Regions from separate parts of the Homo sapiens genome. Here all the other regions are linked to region 3. The links are contacts of gene promoters, found by promoter capture Hi-C in blood cells and fetal thymus (Javierre and others, 2016). All regions are on one chromosome and are shown on one strand. The core of a region is centred on a gene start or on the middle of the fragment in contact, and the rest is flanking DNA. Distances in the headings are between cores, read along the strand shown. Region 1 has its middle 73 kb from the start of LINC01163. Region 2 has its middle 62 kb from the start of MKI67. Region 3 holds the start of EDRF1 (erythroid differentiation regulatory factor 1). Region 4 overlaps LOC124902519 (a long non-coding RNA gene). Region 5 has its middle 9.3 kb from the start of MKI67. Region 6 overlaps PTPRE (protein tyrosine phosphatase receptor type E).

Region 1 (3,311 bases), core at 54-2,553, 2.5 Mb after region 3:
GTGCACCGGTGTCTGCTCAGGGCATTCTCCACCTTGCCCTCCATCCCCTCAGGGTCAAGTGAGGAGGGAGACAAATATCCCACCTTCAGAAACAGCCCTGAGAAACGTTTATTTCCAGGGGACAGTGCGATTAGACCTCTCCCGGCGCGGTGTATTTCTGTGCTTAATATTATTATTTATACATCAATATTGACATCCAGCGTCCATTGATACGTGGCATGCGTAGGTGCTAAGAAGCGCCAGCTACATAGCATGCTTTATTTATGTGCGGTAAATATTTAAAGACTCCCATGTGTTTCGATTGGAAAGTGCGTATTACTGGACAATTTCGTTTCAAAGCTTTCTCTCTGATGTAAGGTTTATTAAGATGTATGAGGTGGCTGCGGTGGCCTGATTGAGAGCCCATGAAAGTCCTGAGAAATAAAATTCTGCTGCTGCGGCCCAGGGAGTCGGCCTTCCACAGTCCCGTTTAGGAGCCGGGGCTCTTCTCCGTTATTAAGACGTGGTAGTTTGCTCTGCATGAATTACCAGCTGTTTGGTATTGCCTGAGAGGGACGGGGTGGCTAGTTTGAAAAGTCAGTTTGCAGGTTTTCCACGATGGCAGAGGTGCCACCTGTGTCACCAGCCGGCGGGGCTGGGAGTTCATCTAGCCCGGGCTATGGACAAGGCCGTGTGCGTCCAGACGGGGCCGCCAGAGGGCGCGCGTCTGCGGCCGCGGGAGGCCCAGCGGGGCCTGAGAAGTGGGCGGAGCCAGCCCCGGCCGGAGGAGCTTCTTGCTTGCAGGTGTCAGCGGCAGCAATTTCAGGCAGGGTGGCCAGGCTGCTCCCCGAGGACAGCATCTTGGAGGAATTGCTTTCATTTCCTCCCAGCTAGTCCCTCTGCCCAGCACTTGCCGGCAGCTTCTTCCATGAGGGCGGAGTTCTGTCTGCAGCCCCAAGGGGCGTTCTTTGAGGCTGTAACTAGCATCCAGGGAGAGATGGCTCACATCAGTGGAGGGTGCGAGGTGGAATCAGGTCGCTCATGACAGAGGCTGCATTCAAGCCAGAGCCCCACTGCTTTGCTGTGGGTTGAATTGCATCTCCCCTCCCACCCCTCTAAAGATATGTCCGAGTCCTAAGCCAGCACCTCAGAACGGGACCTTGTTTTGAGCAGGTTGTTTGCAAATTTAATTAGTTACGATGAGGTCATACGGGAGTAGAGTGGGTCCCTGGGTCCTTAACCCAATGGCTGGTGCCCTGATAAAAAGACAGCCCTGCAAAGACACAGAGACACACAGGGAGAACGCTGTGTGACGGTGGAGGAAGAGACTGGAGTCGTGTGGCCACAAGACAGGGAGCTCCTGGTGCCACCAGGAGCTGGAAGAGGCAGGAAGCGTCCTCTCCTAGAGGCCTCAGAGGAAGCAAGGCCCTGCTGACGCCTTGGTTTTGGACTTCTATCTCCTAAGCTGTGAGACAATGAATTTCTGTTTTAAGCCACCCAGTTTGTGGGACTTAGTTATGGTGCCCCAGGAGACAGGCACAACAAACGGGGAAAGAAAACGCAGCCACTGCCTGAGAAGGAGGCTGTGTGTCGGCTGTGGAGACACCAGCGCAGCTTCCCAGGAATTGGTTAGATCTTGGCCTCCTTTCCGTGCAGTGGTGGAAATAAGAGGAATGGAAGGCTGCTGCCTTGGGAGTGACGGCTCTGGGATTGGCCCCACCGGGCGGTGGGTGGATGGGGCAGACTAGGAGCCCTTCCTGGGAGGGTCACAGAATGAGCTAGCCAGAGTGACCCTTCTCTCTATTCACGGTCTTCAGTGTTGTTTCCTCCAAGCAGGGACAGAGTTGTTCGGTTGGAGAGTGGGAAGACTTATTTCATTCTTTTAAAATTCAGCCTGGAATCTGGGAGCAAGGAAACTTACGCATTAATGCAGCATGTCAGGAGAGCTGCCAGAATGTGCAGCCCCACAGCTGATTTCCACAACTTATCTTGGCAAAAATACTTCCAACCTGTCCCAGGATTCTGTCATGGAATCCCTGCTATATGAAAGCACCTGAGGAGAAGGATGCAGGGCCCGGAACGCTTCCCATTGCCCAGAGGCTGGTGGTTCTACCTGTCCAGAGACTTGTCCCCACCCCACGTAACTCAACAGAGAGATGATCAGACTCGTGTCTTCCCTAGGGGTGGAGGCCGTTGGAACTGTGTTCATTCTGCTAGAAATGCGGGCGAGGCTGCGGTCACCCCTGCTAGGCAGAGCCTTGGCTCCATGCTCCATGAGGACCAAGGAAGAAGCTTCTCAGGCCCCTTCTTTCTCCACATTCCAGCAGATCTTCGCCCCCTGCAAACACCCCCCACCTCTTCTAGGAGCCTGCAGTGGGGACTGGCTGCCAATTTCTGATCGGATGCAGACTATTCACCACCAACCATCCCCCAGGCAGGGCAGGTTTGACATTCACTTGGAAGACAAAGCAAGGTAGTCAGGTGTGCTGCCCCTAGACCTCGAGGAGGGACGTGGACATTATCTCACTTTCCGCGGAGGGGGCAGCAGTGGAAGCCACTGTGGTGGAGGAGAGTGGCCACCTGCTGCCCAGGCCCCCACCTAAAATTGCAGTATAATTATGGACTTGCGGGTCTTTGTACAGTTCCCGGCTTCCGGTAAATATTAATGGGTTGCCTTTTATTCATTTAGCTAATGTTTTTGAAAGATGGCCTCAAACAAAAAGATCATATCTGTATGTTGTGCTTTAATTTATTTTCACCTTTTTTTCTCCTTTGGAGACCCCTAGTGTATCATCACTTTGTTTACCACAAATTAAACCGGGGCTGATTGTTTACCAGACTGTGGGCCTCTGTGCATTGCTCCACACTCTCCCTTTTTTTTTTAATAATCACAACCTGGGATTCATTTGCGAGAGGCCCTAATCTGCATGAGAATTATACAATTAACTTTTGATTAACCACCTAGTTCTTTTGGAAACCATGGTGTATAGGATACTCTGCATTTAAATAATTTTCCTTAAATTGGGAGCAGGCCTTTCATTAAGCTGGTGAATGCTGAGAAGATAGAGGCTGGTGGTTGACTAAACAACAACATTCGGAGATAATCAGGGTCAAAACAATAGGTAAGACGGCAGGGCCAGAATGTCATCTTTAAATATAACAGTGGAGATAAAGGCCCCCAGATTGCGCCTTATCAAAACACAAAAAATCAAAGCGCTCTCTTGTCTGTGGCAAAATGCGGAGGCCCCAGCGATGTGGGGGAGAGCATTGTCTGGCGGCCACCGAAGCAGGATTTGCATTCGGGGGTCTGCCTAACACACGTTACATCACGT
Region 2 (3,464 bases), core at 95-2,594, 2.5 Mb after region 3:
GTTGCCCAAGCTGGTTTTAAACTCCTGGCCTCAAGTGATCCTCCAGCTTTGGCCTCCCAAAGTGCTGGGATTCCAGGCATGAGCCACCATGCCCGGCCAATGTGTTCCAGTTATTATAATTATGGTGAGACTGCCATGCTTCCTAGTCCTTGGGTGCCACTGTGGCTGGCTGGATGAGCCCCTTTCAAATGCTTCCTAGCAACCATCCCTTCTGGAAGTCCGAGGTGGGTAACTTGAGCTCATGTTTAAGTCAGATTTATTTTACTTTAAGTTGTCCCCTTTTAGGGCTAATTTAGCAACACGCATGCCCTTTCTCAAGATTCTTATCAGATGGTGGTGAACTTTTAACGAATATAATGAAAAACATTTCCCCATCCTAGAACACGGGGGAAGGCAAAATGCAGCTTGACCCCGTCAACTTCTTTCATCTGGTCTCTGTAATCAGTTTTATGAAAAGCACATGGCTGCCCTGCTCTATCTTGATAAAGAACAGTTTTTCTGTTCCATTAAAAAAAATCGTTGGAGAGCTGTTTTTGATGTTGAGAGAAGACGAGGTGCAGCTGAGGGAGATGGGGAGGAGCCCTCTCCTCTGCGCCCTGTTTCGGGGGCAGCGAGCCCAGTGGGTTCTGCCTTTCAGGTCTGTTCCTTCATTACGGCAGCTGCACAGGAGGTCGCTGTCTGGGGACAGTCTCGGGTTCCTCCCCACCAGGGCTTTGTAGAGATTCACGCCTCAAGCCCAAGTGTATCCGGGAGCAGGGGCGAGGCAGCTGCAGCTGCCTCAAATGAAAATGAAAGAGGCATTTGTTCTCATCAGTATTGCTTAGAAGAGAAGAGGACTGGTCCTGGAGGTGTTTTCAGAGAGTTTTTCCAAACAGGAAAAGTTTTGGGTAATAGGCTGTCTTCCCAGCCAACTCCTAAGAGACCTGGTTGTGGGTCTGTAGTATATCAAAACTGTTTTGACCACAAATATTTATTGTACATCCACGAGGTACCAACCTTGTTCTAAGTGCTTAAACTATGTCAGCGAACAAACGAATAAAGCATCCTCCTCTCCTGTAGCTAGCTCAGACTCAGAAGACAAATGAGGACTGGAATCAGTCAATCATGCAGCAGGTTAGAAGGTGAACGTGGTGTAGAAAGAAGGGACAGCAGAACTGAGCAAGGGATCAAGGATGCCAGGGATGGAGGGGCCACAGGTAGTCTATTTAGAAGGATGGCTGGGAGGAGTCTTATAAGAGAGGTGAGATTTAAGCAAGAACCACTGCCCCCAACAAAAAAACCCAAAAAACAAAGCATCCCAGCTATGTGACAAGAAAAATACTTAGATGTGTGTGCTCATTTCCACCTCATGAGGATTCCAACGTTGAGAAGAGAGAGCTCTGGTGACTGCCAGCCTGTTACACCCAACACATGGATGCTCCTGGACTGGTGAGACCTAAGTGCCTGGCTCTTCAGCCACCCCCTCCCCTTGGCACCCTTCTTTGTCTTGCTTCTGAAGTGCTAGCCTTGCCTTTTTTTTTTTTTTTAACCCTTTCAGGCCAGTTTCTCTGGCCTCTTTCTTGGGTTTCTTTTTTTTCACCAGTTTCTTTGAATGTTGGTTCTCCGAGGTTCTGTTCACCCCACCCATCTATTTCCCTTGGATCATCTTGCCCACACCACAGCTTTTACAACCACTGGTCAGCTGGCAACTTGAGACCATCTCTGAGCTGAATGTCCTTCCTGAGCCCCAGTTCTGTCCCCCCAGGTGCTTTAGGAAGTCTAAAGCTGAACTCATCAAACCTGTTTCCTTTGGGGAATTTTGTTGGTAACAGCTCTGCTTTCCAGCTAATGATGCAATCAGAAAGCCAAGAATCATTTCAGTTGTCCCTTTTCCTTTCCCAGCAATAATCAATATGCAAGGTGCTCACACATTGACAGTGACAGCGAACATTTGCTGAGTGCTCCTGGGTGTTAGGCAGCGCCCCCAGAGCTCTGCAGAAGGCAGGTGGGGACACATGGAAATACCTGGGCAGGGGGAAGTGGAGTGAGCAGCAAAACTAGGACTTGAACCTATGCCCTCAGACTCTGGAGGATGCACCTTTAACCACCCCCATGAGATGAGGTCTTAGAGGTGCCCTGGGGTCAGATCCTGGAGGACTCCTCAGCTCACACTAAAGACTTTGTACTTTATTTCTTAGCAAAGTGAGACCATGAAAGGATCTCAAGTGGGGTAAGAAAGAGAGGGGCACATCATGTGGTTTTTACTTAGAGGATCACTCTAGCTTCAGGGTGGGTGTCAGATGGTGGGAAAGAGGGGACGATGTCATGTTGTAATAGTATTGGCAAGAGACAATGCCGGCTTGGAGTGGAGCAGGGAGGCGAGGGTGGAGAGAAAGAGATGAGATCAGGAGATGTTGAGGAGACACTGTCAAGAATCTGGTGAAGTGCGGTGGAGGTGGCTGCCAGGAACAGGGAGTGACAGGATTGTCACCTGCTCTTGCATCCAATTCAACTGCTTAGGAAAACAATGCCTTATTATAAAAGTCCTACATCTTTATTGTAGAATACAAAATGTAGAAAGAAAAACAAGAACAACATGTCTAGGTCCATTATGCACTGATAACTACTATTAATATTTGGTATTCACACATAGAGTGATATCTATATCTATATTGATATTATATATATATAGTCATGTGTTGCTTAACAACAGGGACACATTCTGAGAATGTATCAGTAGGTGATTTCATTACTGTGCAAACATCACAAGAGTGCACTTTTTTTCCCTTCAACTTTTTTTTTTTTTTCTTTTGGAGATAGAGTCTCACTCTGCCTCCAGGCTGGAGTGCAGTGGCACGATCTCAGCTCACTGCAACCTCCACTTCCTGGGTTCAAGTGATTCTCATGCCTCAGCCTCCCCAGTAGCTGGGACTACAGGCGTGCACCACCACGCCCAGCTAATTTTTGTATTTTTAGTAGAGATGGGTTTTCACCATGTTGGCCAGGATGGTCTCGAGCTCCTGGCCTCAGGTGTTCTGCCCACCTCGGCCTCCCAAAGTGCTAGGATTACAGGCATGAGCCACCGTATCCGGCCCCTTTCAACTTTTATTTTAAGTTCTGGAGTATATGTGCAGTATGTACAGGTTTGTTACATGGGTTAACGTGTGTCATGGTGATTTGCTGCACAGATCAACGCATCACCTAGGTATTAAGCCTGGCATCCATTAGTTCTTCTTCCGGATGCTCTCCCTGTCCCTATAGAGTGCACTTTCACAAACCTAGATGGCATTGCCTACTGCACACCTAGGCCGTGTAATCTAGCCATGGCTCTAGGCTGCAAACTTGTACAACATGCGACTGTACTGACTACTGTAGGCAGTTGTAACAGAATAAGTATATGTGTATCTAACCATATGTAAACAGAGAAAAATTATAATAAAAATATGGTATAAATGGTAATAAAAGATAACATTAATATGGTATAA
Region 3 (3,506 bases), core at 964-3,463:
ATCCAGCAGCACATCAAAAAGCTTATCCACCATGATCAAGTGGGCTTCATCCCTGGGATGCAAGGCTAGTTCAATATATGCAAATCAATAAATGTAAAGAATAAATTTTAAATCACTTCATTTTACGGCTCAGAGGTCTGTTTTGTGGACACAGAGACAGAAATGGAGACGTTTTTAAAATTAAGATCATATTGCACATTGGCTTTTTTTTTTTTATACGGAGTCTCGCTCTGCTGCCCAGGCTGGAGTGCAGTGGTGCAATCTCGGCTCACTGCCAGCTCCGTCTCCTGGGTTCACACCATTCTCCCGCCTCAGGCTCCTGAGTAGCTGGGACTACAGGTGCCTGCCACCAAACCTGGCTAATTTTGTTTTTGTATTTTTAGTAGAGACGGGGTTTCACCGTGTTAGCCAGGATGGTCTCGATCTCCTGACCTCGTGATCCACCCGCATCTGCCTCCCAAAGTGCTGGGATTACAGGCGTGAGCCACCGCGCTAGGCTGCATATTGGCTTTTTAAAATTTCACTTATCACTTAACATTATATGATATGCAATTTAAATGTTCTTAAATATTCCTGAAAAACAAGTTTATGGTTGCACAGGGTTTATTTTCTACCAAAACCAAATTTGACTATCCTCCTCCTAGTGTTAGATATTATGTTCAACTTTTCACCATAAAAAACAATGCATAACTTGCAAAAACCAAAAAAGAATTATTGGCTGCAATATTCAAATGAAATGATAAAAATCAAAATCAATACATGTTGAAGTAAATGTCTACAAAATACACTATTATATCAAATTAACTGTTAAATTTAATTCACTATTATTATTTTTTTAAGACAGAGTCTCACTATCGCCCAGGCTGGAGCGCAGTGTTGCCATCTCTGCTCACTGCAACCTCTGCCTCCCAGGTTCAAGCGATTCTCCTGCCTCAGCCTCCCTAGTAGCTGGGATTACAGGCGCCCACCACCACATCTGGCTAATTTTTGTATTTTTAGTAGAGATGGGGTTTCACCCTGTTCGTCAGGCTGGTCTCGATCTCCTGACCTCAGGCAATCTGCCCACCTCGGCCTCCCAAAGTGCAGGGATTAAAGGCGTGAGCCACCGCGCCCGGCCTGTTAAATTTAATTCATAAAATTGTTTTGTTACATTTGAAAGCAATTTGTGAGTTGAATGCTTACTCATCAGGAGCATTCCTGAAAACGGACAGGACAGTGAGTTGTAAGAGCCAAACGTGAATTACAAATTGAGACAGCCAAATTGCAAGAGCCAAGTTAATTTTTAAAAACACTTTCTGTATCTTACGGCACAACAAAACACTTTTACTACAAAACATGTATTGTATAACGGATGTGGCTGCGTTTGACAGTTTGAGATGACACTGAGGAGTGTGAAAGAGAGCCTGGACCTTCAAAGCTTGCAAACGGCCCGGGCTATTTCTCCACCTCTTCGCTACTCAAAGCGCTGGCATCGTTTCCTGGGAACCTGTGAGAAATGCCGAGTCTCGGACCCATCCAGAGCGCCCGAATGGAAACCTAGGCGTTACGAGGCCCCAGGTTCAGCGTCTCACGGGTCCTGCACCACCTGGGACGCCCCGCAAGCAGCGGGCATGCCGGGCCCCCAGAAGACTCCGAAAGCCACCCATTCCCTAAACGGGGAGGGCCTCGTCCGCGCGTCCCAGCGCCCTCCCCGGAAGCCCCGCCGCTCCCACACCCAGGATGGGGCCACATGGGCACTAAAAGGCGGGCAGGAGCGCCCAGTCTCGAGATGGCTGGCTCGCCTTTCCAGTCCGGGCCCTCGGGGTGCCCGTGTGAAAAGATGTGACACTGAAGCCTGGGGAAGAAGTTTGAACCTCTCACTAATTCACGTAACGGGAGCCGCCGGCAGCGCTGACGGCTGCACCTCCCCTCCCACGCGGACACTACCTGCAGGATCGGACGACCCCCAGAACTGTTTGCCAACAAAGACATGCAGGGGGCGGAGCCTGAGCGTCAGATACCGTGAGCGGCGTGCAGAGGGCGGAGCCTAGGAGTCAGATACCGCGAGAAGTAGTCTCCCGAAGAGGTTCGGACAAGCGCAGGCGCACTACAATTCCCGCCCTGGCCGCGAAGGTGGCACCCGCAGCGGGAGGCGGGGCCGGGCCTTCGGGACAAAGATCGCGAGATTTAATGGCGAGTCACAGCTACTTCTTCCTGGCAGAGACCGGAAGTGCGGTCCGCGGAGCGTCTCTGGCGCTTACCCTGCTTTGGGCCTGCGTTGCTGCTGCTGCTCCTCCGCTCCCCCGTCGTATCGCCTGCCCTGGATCGAAGTGATGGGGGATGCCAAGGAGGCCGGAGCCGAGGGTCCGCCGGCCGGGGCCGCCGCTCGAGGAGGGCTCAGCCTCCTGTCCCAGGGAGAATCCGAGGAATCTTCTGCACAGGTGAGTCCTCCGCGGAGGGGGACCTGCCAGGGATGTGGGAGCGGAGGACCCGCTCCACCGGGGAGGGATGCCACGGTTCCCGGCAGATTCTGGAGGCTTCTCCATGTTTCCCTGACACCCCCAAAACAGGGAGTTGAAGTCCATGCTCCAGTCGGCAGGTATTCGTATTAAAAGCAGTTCTGGTAGCCGACAGGTGAATTAGATACGATCTTTCCTCTCAAGGAGGGTACATGTAAATATGTCGTTCCAAAACGTGGCACAGTCGTGCAAAGCAGGAGGGAAGAAACGGTGCCAGGTAGTGACTCGCCGAGAATGAGACCGAACTAATTCACAAAGGGTGTAAAATGTTTGCCATGCAGAAGAGGTACTGCGTGAAAGGTTAGAATATTGAACCCAGACGCCGAACTTGCTTTGGGAGTGTGCAAGTGCAGGCTGTGAGGAACGAACCCCCAATGCCTTTCTATGAAGTTAGAGACTCAAGAGTATTTGAACCATGCATGCATGCATGAACCGATGCATCGATTACTAAATATTTGCATTAAAACAAAAAGCCCAAATGTTCTACCAGACTATTTTATGAATGATGTGTTATTAAAATTAAAATACATCTTTGGCCGGGCGCGGTGGCTCACGCCTGTAATCCTAGCACTTTGGGAGGCCGAGGTGGGTGGATCACCTGAGGTCGGGGAGTTCGAGACCAGCCTGGCCAACATGGCAAAACCCTGTCTCTACTAAAAATACAAAAATTAGCCGGACGTGGTAGTGCACGCCTGTAATTCCAGCTACTAGGGAGGCTGAGGCAGGAGAATGGCGTAAACCCCAGAAGCCGAGGTTGCAGTGAGCCATGATTGCTCCACTGCACCCTAGCCTGGGCGACAAAGCAAGACTGCGTCTCAAAAAAAAAAAAAAAAAGAATTAAAATACATCTTTAATACTGAAAATAGGCTTTACTAAAGTTTGCATCTAGTTAACATGATACCATTGAGTCTCCTTGGTTTCTGCTTCTCCACTTTACATGAATACATTTTAAAAGAGATGTGGGTGGTCCATTTTCTAGCTGATAACCATAACCATCATACTCCTTGA
Region 4 (3,516 bases), core at 889-3,388, 2.8 Mb before region 3:
GAAATCTGTGGGAACTGCTTTTTTCCAAAGTTGTGTTGAAAGCTTCAGAAACCAAGGAATTGAAACCTATTTCATCATTGTTTCTAAATAGCAGGGATTGATAATATGCAGATCCTCCATTAGCAGAGATGGATCTTGTAGCTTTGTTCTTTCCTCAGACATTTTGGTGGTTCTTAGGGTTACTGAGATTGATGATTCTTCTAGGTCTACCCGCTTTCAGCGGATTTCATAATTGCTTTTAACCTCACAATACCAGGAACAGAGTAATCTTGGGGAAATAAACACTAGATATTGTCAGATTAGTTAAAGATATAGTAATGTTTGAGTATCTGGCTCACATTTTAGGATACCTTTATTACGTTTTTATAAAAATTCAATAAGAAGATCAGACTGGTGACTTGAAAATGACATTGATGTTGAGTTTTAAAAAAAAGGAGCCAATTGGCTTATAAATTTTATATGGACCTGTATTTTGTAGGAGGAGTTGTTGAAATGGGTGTAAACAATACCTCACTGGAGAGTAAAATAGGAAAGTTCATTTTCACAGGCCCGTGAATTTTTGGCGGCCAAGGGGACAAACATTTATTAAATGTCTACTAAGGTATAAATAACATGTTTTAGACCATCTCAGCAACTAGAAGTGAGATTTTTGCAGAGGTTGTGAATAAGTCGTGCTGGCAAAGCAAAGGTGAAACAGTTCGAGGTAATTTTTTTTTTTTTTTAAACAGAGTCTAGCTCTGTCGCCCAGGCTAGAGTGCAGTGGCGCGATCTTGGTTCATTGCAACCTCTGCCTGCTGGGTTCCAGTGATTCTCGTGCCTCAGCCTCCCGAGTAGCTGGGGCTACAGGCATGCACTACCATTCCTGGCTAATTTTTGTATTTTTAGTAGAGATGGGGTTTTGCCATGTTGCCCAGGCTGGTCTCAAACTCCTGGCCTCAAGTGATCCACCCACCTGGGCCTTCCACAGTGCCTGGATTACAGGCGTGAGCCACTGTGCCTGGCCATCCAAGGTATCTTTAAAGGTGAAATTCTTTTTGTAACTAGAGTTTCAGAAAGCTTAGCTCTATAAATTAGTAAAGAAGGGAAAAGATGGGCAAAAGTAGTGAGGGGTGGAGTTTTACTTGCCATTGCTGTGATTAAGAAAATCTGGGCTTCGGCAGCTAGACTGTTAGCAATTTCTGTTACCAATTACAGAACCCAATTGCTGAGTTGGTAGAATACTATGAAAGAAACTAGAGGAGAAAGCCTTCTTCTAAAGATACTGGGGATGGCAGAGGTGGAATCTCAGATTTTCTAAGATGTCTGAGTGTCCTTTTGAGGATGTCATTCATTATAGATATCAGGGTATTTAGACTCAGAGTTGTCTGTCACCTTGCTGTTTCTGCTCACTTATTCCCGGATGAATACAATTCCCCTTAAGGACAATTAACATGTTTGGAACAGGAATCTGGATCAAAGTGAATTGAAAGCTGTCTTAGGAACAGCATGGGAAAATTTAGCTGAGGCTGAAATTGGAAGTAGGTGCTGGGTACTTCCTGCAGCGTATGCGGTAGTCAGAAGACCTAATAGGTAAGGCAAGAACCTCATGCATTGCCCAGGGCTCTAAGTGACAGCACTGAAAGAACAGCCAGTAAGGTGAGGTGGGTCAAGTAGCCCTACCCTGAGTTCAAAGCAGAATGACTATTCCAGCATGAAGCATTACTACCAACATCATTGCTTCTCTGAGGATCAGAAGGGACAGAGTGATGACAACTGAAGCTGAACTTATTCAGTGACAATGCCTATGTGACTTAACCAATCTAATATAATTGTGATTTAAATCAACTTTAACAACAAATCTTTAATAGGAGTGATCTGTGCCCCTTCAGGTTATATGTTTGTATGTGAGGAAAGTTGGCCTCATCTCCACTGGGGATGAGGATTGCTTTTTGGCTCATTTATTGCCCCCTATAATTAATGGCAATGACACCAAAGACCAGGTTAGTCCAAACATGAGTACTTGTACCCAACAGAGTGATAAAAGTTTGAATCCCTTTTCTCTGCAAAGTTCCTTAGCATACTCAATTTTTTCCTTAAAGCAGCTGAGGTTTAGGTAAAGGGAGAGGCAAAAGGCTGCACAAAGGGGCAGAGTCACTCAGTGCCAGGAAGCAAGATTTACTTTAAGATTCAGGCTGGGCATGGTGGCTCATACCTGTAGTTCCATCACTTTGGGAGGCTGAGCCAGGCAGATTGCTTGAACCCAGGAGTTGGAGACCAGCCTGTGCAACATGGTGAAACCTCATCTCTCCAAAAATACAAAAATTAGCCGGCATGGTGGTGTGTGCCTGTGGTCCCAGCTAGGAGGATCTCTTAAGCCCAGGTGGAGGTTGTGGTAAGCCAAGATCGTTCCACAGCACTTCAGCCTGAGTGACACAGTGAAACCGTGTCTGAAAAAAAAAAAAAAAAAAAAAAAAAAAGCAGCAAGCAACTGCCTGCTCAGGCACACAAAATGAACTGCTTTACCTCTGCCCAAGCTGTATATCTTCATTGATAACACCACTTATTTGAGCTTTGGGCACTCCATGGCACAGTAGCCACAACCACATTGCCTATCAGCTGGGGTAAATAGGGATTGCTGTCCCTTTGTCCTGATAACATTCCTTCCTCTTCCCACTCAAAGAAGCAACAACCAAGTTGCCATTTAGGCACCTTGTTTCAATCCTGCCTCTTACCACTCAGCCAATATAAATTTAACAGATAGCATGCTGGTGGACTTTTACCCTTCACCTACCTACGACTTGGACAAAAGCATTTGCTTCTAGGTCTTGGGTAGTTTTGAATCTTCTAGCTTGGCCCTCAGGACCTTTTGTTCTTTCTTTTCTAGAAAGCAACTGCATTCTGTCTTCATCATCATCATCACCAAAACTGTCATGAACTATATAAGCTCTGAGATTTTACCCTATATACTTAGCTTACTCACAAGCTAATCAGCTAGAAGCTGTTACTCTTTCATGATTAGTGGCAGAAGATAAAAGACTCCTGGGTCAGAGACTAAGGACTTTATTACTCACAGCAAAGCAATAACCACAGCTTCATGTCGGCTTTTTCTATTTCCCATTCCTTTACTCCCACAGTGATGACACACGGGGCCAGTGATGGGTACCTATACACTCAGGGAGTTGTACTGCAAAACAGGAACACTGTTTTTTTGCAAGATCCACTGCGTTTGTAGCAAACAGAAGCAAGCTTGCTTTCTGTCTGGAGGAAGACATGATTTCATTTCTGAAAATTGCTCACTGCACTTCATCTTTCAAGATTGCTGATTGAAACATAATCCTAAGAAATAACTTAGGTAAAGAGCAGTCAGCATTTTATTATTGCCATACTATGGGCAAAGGGACACTAAGGGCAAAGGGACACCAAGGGCACATGGAAAATTGCTTCAATCAGCAGGTATAATCTTTAATGGAGGGGAATTTGGCAATATCTAACAAAACTACATATGCATTGGCCTTTTGACTCTGCTCCTATTTCTTA
Region 5 (3,744 bases), core at 532-3,031, 2.4 Mb after region 3:
GCTCGATTTATACAACCCAGGAAGATCAAACCCTGGGTGCCTGGCATGGTTCTAATCCAGTACAACCATCACCACGTCAATTCCCACTTTTACTGAGATGGAGATTCAAGTGGCAACATTTCCTCGACTATTAATGGTTTAAGAAAAGCATCTTACAGTGTGTTGTTTCCAGAAACAGCTATGCCCCCTGGAAGGAAAGTACGTCTTAACAACACAAAATAGTGGTCAAAACCAATTACTTAACACTGGGACAATCTATTATTATAAAGTCAGTAAGACAGGCAGGTATAATAGCAACAGCTTTCCTCACCATAAGGCAGCTGCCCGGTTTCTACATATCTTCTGCTTTCCAGAGTAAAGATGTGCATTTGACATTTCCATACCTATTATATGCAGGACACGCGATCCCGAGAAACTGTCAGAGCGTTTTTCTTGTACCCCAGACCAGCCTTCTGTTCCTTGGATATTAAAACCCCAGGAAGTTGCCTGGCTTATTTATACCACTATCCCTCTCACAGCAGACAGACAGATGTAGCACACAGCAACACAGTCACAAATAGTAAAAATAACAAATAGTAAAAATAACAAAGGGTTATGATTTGTGAGACAAAGGCTATGTTTTCAAATGAACGATATTCATTGTAAAAATTTTGTTGAAAACAAAGTACTCGTACCTTCTAAATAGAAATAATAAATAAATAAAACTAATATAGATTTGAATCTAATTGACATATATAGATTGAAGACTGCAACCAACAGTTGTAGAACACACATTCTTTTCAAACACATAATACACAGATTAGTAAACATTGCAGCCATATCTGATCACAAAGCAAATGCCAACACATTTCAACAACTAGAAGCTATTGAAATGTCCATCCAGAACGATAAAATTGTGTATAATTATGTGTATTATTTATTTTTCTTCCTTTCTTTTTTTTCAGAGACAAGGTCTTGCTCTGTTGCCAAGGTTGGAGTGCATTGGCACAATCATAGACCACTGCAACCTCAAACTCCCGGGCTCAAGTGATCCTCCCACCTCAGCCTCTGAGTGGCTGGGACCACAAATACACACCATCATGACTGGCTAATTTTTAAATTTTTTGAAGAGATGGAGTCTCACTGTGTTGCCCAGGCTGGTCTTGAGCCCTGGGCCTCAAGTGATCCTCCTATCCTTGGCCTTCCAAAGTGTTGGGATGACAGGCATATGCCACTGCACCAGGCAGGTATATTATTTCAATCAAATAGTTAATGTAAACAAATGACAACTACAATCAATATTTTATGATTCTCATAAGGACTAGAGACATCGGACATAATTACATACTTTATTATTTAATTTTTGTGAAGTTTAGTAATGTCAGACAAAATATAGTGTTCAAAGATGCATGTTTAAAAATAAAACTCAGGCTGGGCACAGTGGCTCACATCTGTAATCCCAGCAGTTTGGGAGGCTGAGGCAGGAGGATCACTTGAGGTCAGGAGTTTGAGACCAGCCTGGCCAACATGGTGAAACCCCGTCTCTACTAAAAATACAAAAATTAGCCAGCTGTGGTGGCGGGCATCTGTAGTCCCAGCTACTGGGAAGGCTGATGTTCTGTGCAGGAAATGCATGAGGGGAGAAGAAATGGCACACACACAATACTTTAAAGGGTAAACAAGCTTTACCCCATGTAAATGGCAATGCAGATATAATAAGGAAATGACATAATAAGCAAATGATATAATAAGAAAATCAATATAATAAGGATATTGTTACAATAAGCAAATTGCAATGGGAAGAGAAGGGAAAAAGATACTTACACTCACCAGACTATGGAGGATTCACCACCAAACTGGGAAGCAACATCTTGGGATCCAGAGTCGACCACTTGTCCATGCAGACAAGGAGGGGTCTCATGAAGCTTCTGCGTGGTCTGAGACCCTAGCTCTTTTTGTAACGAGTTGTTTGGCATGAGGTCCAGTTACGAGGGCCCTTCGTGACGGGGCTCAAGGAACACAAAAAGGTCAACTTGTTTTTGCAATTATCTATTGTTTTTCAATAACTAACGTATAGGAATAGATTGAAATAGGGATTTCTTTGAAACAGTGCTGGATGAACGCCTTAAGGGGCTCACACAACCTGTTCCGAGACTTGGTGACCATTGTTTCTGTCCACAACCAAATGAGTTCACATTTAATATTTAACTATTCCTCCACAAGGCTGAGGCAGGAGAACTGCTTGAACCCAGGAGGAAGAAGTTTCAGTGAGCCAAGATCGTGCCACTGCACTCCAGCCTGGGTGACAGAGTGAGACTCAAATAATAATAATAATAATTTAAAAATATTTAAGGTCTGGCATGGTGGCTCACGCCTGTAATCCCAACACTTTGGGAGGCCAAGGTGGGTGTATCACGAGGTTAGGAGATCGAGACCATCCTGGCTAACATGGTGAAAACCCGTCTCTACTAAAAATACAAAAATTAGCCGGGCATGGTGGCGTGCGCCTGTAGTCCCAGCTACTCGGGAGGCTGAGGCAGGAGAACGGCGTGAATCCGGGAGGCGGAGCTTGCAGTGAGCGGAGATTGCACCACTGTACTCCAGCCTGGGTGACAGAGCGAGACTCCATCTCAAAAAATAAATAAATAAATTTAAAAATAAAAATAAAACTCAAAGTATTTTTATAATGTTATAAAAGCCACAGTGACAGACTCTGTGATGAGAGAAAGAAGTCGCGGTTAGAAGACAGGATGGAAGAAGCCTCTGGAAGAAATGTTCTATTTCATGACTTGGTTTAGTTACGTGAGTGTTTGCTTCCTGATAATTGAAACTATAAGACTCATGCAGAGTTTTACATTCAGCCTTCTCCACAAAGTAAGTTCTTTTAGGACCAGATCACCTCTTTGGCCTGGTTATCTGTACTCAAATCCTTGAATTTGATATTTAAGTCCAATTTCTCATTTTTTGAATGGATCCAAATTATACCACAGTGGCATAAAATTTTTTGAGCTGAAAACATTTTAGAATCAAGAAATGCAGACAGAAGCTTTGTCTGAATTATGCCCTATCCTCACCCCATTATCAGACTACGAAGTTTACAGATAAGCCCCTATCTTCAGCTATTGGCTGCTTTCTTTGTGCTCTTCTGAGAATGGATATTAACAAACAAAATGAATACACTTTGTCTTTTCTCTTGTTAATCTCTTGTTAATCTGGTTTTTGTCATTTATTTTATTTTTTGAGTCAGGGTCTCACTCTGTCACCCAGAGTGGAGTGCAGTGGTGAGATTTCAGCTCACTGCAACCTTAACCTTCTGGGCCCAAGCTCAGCATCCTAAGTAACTGGGACTATAGGTGCACGCCATCATGCTGGGCTAATTTTTGCTTTTTTTTTTTTTTTTTTTTCCAGAGACAGGGATTCACCATATGGCCCAGGCTGGTCTCCATCTTCCAGGCTCAAGCAATCCACCCACCTCCTTCTCCCAAAGTGCTAGGATTACAGGTGTGAGCCACAGTGCTAGGCCAGTTTTTTTTTTTTTTTTTTTTTTTTTGAGACGGAGTCTCGCTGTCGCCCAGGCTGGAGTGCAGTGGCGCGATCTCGGCTCACTGCAGGCTCCGCCCCCTGGGGTTCACGCCATTCTCCTGCCTCAGCCTCCCGAGTAGCTGGGACTACAGGCGCCCGCCACCGCGCCCGGCTAATTTTTTGTATTTTTAGTAGAGATGGGGTTTCACCATTTTAGCCGGGATGGTCTCGATCTCCTGACCT
Region 6 (3,549 bases), core at 1,034-3,533, 2.3 Mb after region 3:
AAGTGTAGTCAGATTCAGAATGGGCTTTTCTAGATTCCCCTGTAAGATCTTTCCCCTGCTCCTGGCAGGAGCACCACACCATGGGAACCCCAGGGCCCACGCAGCTGCCCGGGACTGGGGGACCAGGACGTGGCACTTCTCACATGGGTGGAAAGATGGGTTTACAGAATGGTGGCATGGAGACGCTGTGGCCTGGCAAGGATCAATGGGGTGGCATCTGGCATTAGCCATCAGGAAGACTTAAGGCTGAAGGGACATTGGGCAGGGAGCTCTCAGGGCTGCTCCACCCGCCCCCAGGGTGACAGCCCATAGTATCACTTAGGGTGGGACTGAGAGTCACCTGGGGGAGAGGAGAGAAGGGGCCCAACTTCCCCAGCCCCTAGTATCACTTAGGGTGGGACTGAGAGTCACCTGGGGGAGAGGAGAGAAGGGACCCAACTTCCCCAGCCCCTGGCACCTTCCCTGCCTTTCCCAGTCTTTTACCAGAGTCATAAGATGGTCCTTGGCTCTGGGCAGGCATGTGGCCCTGGGGAGCTCTGGGGTCAGAGGTCAAGGTGCTTTGCATGTCAGGCAGGCTTGACTTTTGCCTGTAGAAAGACTATAGAAAGATGGCAAGCTAGGCCTCTTTTCTGGAAAAGTGCCAACAGCTGATAATTTTAGGAAATAATGTTTTGAATGTGAAGTGTGACTTTTTAGAATAAAAAGACAGGAAGCTCTTAGAAACTGCAAGATTCTAAATCTAAGCAGAAGGCTATATTTTACCCTGTGCTTTTCTATAGCTGTCCTCAAAGCGTAAACCATTCCAAATTATTTTCAACTAGTGTTATATGTGTTCAGCAGAGCTATTTCTGCCTGGGCATTGCCAGTCCCTGAGCAGGAGGGTCTCACAGTGAGGTCTGCAGGACTGTAAGTTTGGGGTCTGACTCCCTGGCCACCCTGTGTGGGCTGTGACTGTCTCTCAGAGCTATACCCGCCCTTTCTCTGCTGGCAGCCCGACAGAGCTGGCTCAACCATCGGAGGTCGCAGGCCACCAGCCCGTGGCCCACCTGGCAGCCTTCCAGGTGAAGGTGAGACAAACAAGGCATGACCTGGGGGCTGCCCGGCTCCCCATCACAAACGCCACAAACACCACAAACACAACCCACCCTGATCAGAGACTAAGCAGAGAAAGCAGGGAGAGGACCTAGAGTTACTCAGTAATGACTCAGGAAGGAGACCCTAAGCTTCTACCACATGCCAGACTCTGTGCCCAGTGCAGCATAAACGTCCTCAGAACCAGCCTGGTCCCAGCCTGGCCGAGCCGGACGTTCCTGGGAAAGGTTACAGGAGGAGCAGGGCCAGGCCCACAGCACTTTTAGAAGCCCATGAAAATGTCTTCATTTCTCTTCAAATCACAAACAAAACGTGCAAAACCCATTCTGGAGTGCATCTTTTCACTGGCGACCAACCCAGTCCTAAGATAACCTTCTTAATAGTTCTATGGAGGAAGCTGCAAAGGCAGAAGTGACTACAACCCACAAAAGTCATGATGGAGCCCTGACGTGTGTGTACACACACACTACATGCACACACACACACACAACACACACACTACACACCCACCGCACATAACGCACACACATACACACTCCACACACACACCACACACTCCACACAAACATATCACACACATACCACACACATACACACCACACACATACCACACACTACACACACACACACACACACACTACACATACACACCAAACCCACATGCACACATTCACACAGCATACACACTACACACATGCACACCACACATACACCACACACACTACACACATGCACCATACACACCACACACACACCACACATTACACACATACACAACCACACACACCACACACACAATACACACACACCACACTCACTACACACACACCCCACACACAGAGCACTCCACGGTCAGCCTTCTACCCCGGAAAACTGCTTGTGCAACAGGCTGGATCTACCAGACGCTCCTCACTGTGCTCGCCTTCCAGCTCTGGGGCAGACTCCGGTGGTGGGACTGAGGGTCAGAGTCCCCAATCCTAGACCCCCACATCCACTTGTCCTCATGGGGCTGGTGCTCATTTCCCTGGGAAGCCTGGGAGAGTGGACCCAGTTCTCCTGTCCTGGGGCTCTTTTAAGTGCACCCACACTTGGCAACACTGGGGCTGGGCCCAGTGCAGGGTTCATAAAATACAGCCCTTGCACTGCCAGGGGCCTGGCACATTCTGCTATTCTTGCTATGTAATGACCCAGCAGCCCCCATCCTGGATGCTGAAATCCTACCCTTGTCGTCATGCCACAGCTGAGACAGTCAGTGTTCACCAAAGCAGGTGCATTCTCTCTCAGGACACTAGTGTTCTCCATGGGAACGCTGAGGAAGAACATCTCTGCCATCCCTGGTGTCGCTGTGAAGCTGCTTTTGCCCTTCCCAGGAGCTGACACTGCAGATGAAGAGACAGCACTGTGATTTCTGGAAGAGACAGCACTGTGATTCCTGGTCCTAATATCTTGGCTTTGTTTGGGTTTTTTTTCCAGATGACCATTCTAGGGTGATTCTGAGCCAACTGGATGGAATTCCCTGTTCAGACTACATCAATGCTTCCTACATAGATGTAAGTGGGCAGAGGTTTCTTGTTCCCCTGGCCCAGCTGGGGCATGAGCAGTAAGCACTTTCTTGTCTGGTGCCCGGAGTGTAAATTGTCACAACCTTTCTGGGCAGTTTGGCCACAAGCACAAAGGGTACGGAACTGCCCGTGCTTTACACACTGGCATCAGCATCTGGGAATTTGAATTCAAGAGACAGAGATGATCACAGAGGATGTTCACTACAGCATTATGTATATTCCTGACCAAATAGAACAGGGAGCATGGGTAGTTAAACAGATTGTGGTAAAACCATGTGCAGTGGACTATTAGAACTTGATTTGTATTAATCTTTAAAAGATCATTTAATATCAATTATAAAATTCCCATTAAAAATACAACATAAAATAAATTGTACATGTTCACCCAATTAGAGGACAGAAATGTCTGCATGTCTGCTTGTGGGTGAGTCTGGGAAAGGTTTGGCAGAAAAACAGACTAGAGAGGGGACGTATGAAGTAGGATTTGTTATTTCTGGAATTGCTGGTGAGTTTTCTTTCCTTCTTAACCTTTTCCTGTGTTTTGCAAATTTTCCATGGTGAATATGTACTGCTTTCCTAACAGCAACACCAACAAATCCTTTCAGCAAAGATAATTCTGAAAAAATATAAATCTGATGTTATTTTTTCTAGGGTTACAAAGAGAAGAATAAATTCATAGCAGCTCAAGGTAAGCTTTTTATTAATTTCTCAACGTATTTTTGGTAACGTGAATAGCTCTTATTTCCTTCTCTGTATGCCAACAAGACCAAGGACTTATACTGGATTTGTGTGTGTGTGTTTACACCTAACAGACACGTTAGATATCCATTCACACAACGGATATGTGTAGTCAGAGAAACACACACTTATTCCCACACCTATATGGTGTGAACAC

The links. The method cuts DNA at HindIII sites, captures the fragments that hold promoters and counts their contacts. A CHiCAGO score of 5 or more calls a contact.
Region 1: a fragment that was not itself captured here is called in contact with the fragment with the promoter of EDRF1 in region 3 in 4 of 17 cell types (activated CD4 T cells, non-activated CD4 T cells, naive CD8 T cells and 1 more); the score reaches 10.8 in activated CD4 T cells.
Region 2: a fragment that was not itself captured here is called in contact with the fragment with the promoter of EDRF1 in region 3 in 1 of 17 cell types (activated CD4 T cells); the score reaches 5.3 in activated CD4 T cells.
Region 4: a fragment that was not itself captured here is called in contact with the fragment with the promoter of EDRF1 in region 3 in 1 of 17 cell types (total CD4 T cells); the score reaches 5.0 in total CD4 T cells.
Region 5: a fragment that was not itself captured here is called in contact with the fragment with the promoter of EDRF1 in region 3 in 1 of 17 cell types (naive CD4 T cells); the score reaches 5.4 in naive CD4 T cells.
Region 6: a contact is called between a fragment that was not itself captured here and the fragment with the promoter of EDRF1 in region 3, in 3 of 17 cell types (naive CD4 T cells, non-activated CD4 T cells and naive CD8 T cells). The highest score is 7.1, in naive CD4 T cells.

Annotation. Positions count from the first base shown.
Region 1 is chr10:128,211,393-128,214,703 of GRCh38, forward strand. No RefSeq gene overlaps it. Among named protein-coding and RNA genes, the nearest start is that of LINC01163, 73 kb to the right of the region's middle. RefSeq lists a silencer at 626-775. The HindIII fragment of the contact is 1,932 bases long and covers 338-2,269 here.
Region 2 is chr10:128,186,980-128,190,443 of GRCh38, forward strand. No RefSeq gene overlaps it. Among named protein-coding and RNA genes, the nearest start is that of MKI67, 62 kb to the left of the region's middle. The HindIII fragment of the contact is 5,504 bases long and covers 1-3,464 here.
Region 3 is chr10:125,717,496-125,721,001 of GRCh38, forward strand. EDRF1 (erythroid differentiation regulatory factor 1) reads left to right here and starts at 2,214. Exons shown (of 25, transcript NM_001202438.2): 1 at 2,214-2,420. The coding sequence starts at 2,313. It overlaps EDRF1-DT (EDRF1 divergent transcript), which reads right to left and starts at 1,998. Exons shown (of 5, transcript NR_033847.1): 1 at 1,927-1,998. RefSeq lists enhancers at 1,330-1,439, 1,920-1,999, 2,115-3,097. The HindIII fragment of the contact is 5,171 bases long and covers 1,416-3,506 here.
Region 4 is chr10:122,959,568-122,963,083 of GRCh38, forward strand. All of the region lies in intron 1 of LOC124902519 (a long non-coding RNA gene), which reads left to right. Among named protein-coding and RNA genes, the nearest start is that of C10orf88, 7.1 kb to the left of the region's middle. The HindIII fragment of the contact is 2,169 bases long and covers 1,055-3,223 here.
Region 5 is chr10:128,133,805-128,137,548 of GRCh38, forward strand. No RefSeq gene overlaps it. Among named protein-coding and RNA genes, the nearest start is that of MKI67, 9.3 kb to the left of the region's middle. The HindIII fragment of the contact is 242 bases long and covers 1,661-1,902 here.
Region 6 is chr10:128,058,374-128,061,922 of GRCh38, forward strand. PTPRE (protein tyrosine phosphatase receptor type E) reads left to right here. Exons shown (of 21, transcript NM_006504.6): 8 at 2,566-2,642; 9 at 3,306-3,342. It overlaps AS-PTPRE (lncRNA antisense to PTPRE protein-coding gene), which reads right to left. Exons shown (of 3, transcript NR_136150.1): 2 at 2,314-2,471. Among named protein-coding and RNA genes, the nearest start is that of AS-PTPRE, 2.3 kb to the right of the region's middle. The HindIII fragment of the contact is 2,124 bases long and covers 1,222-3,345 here.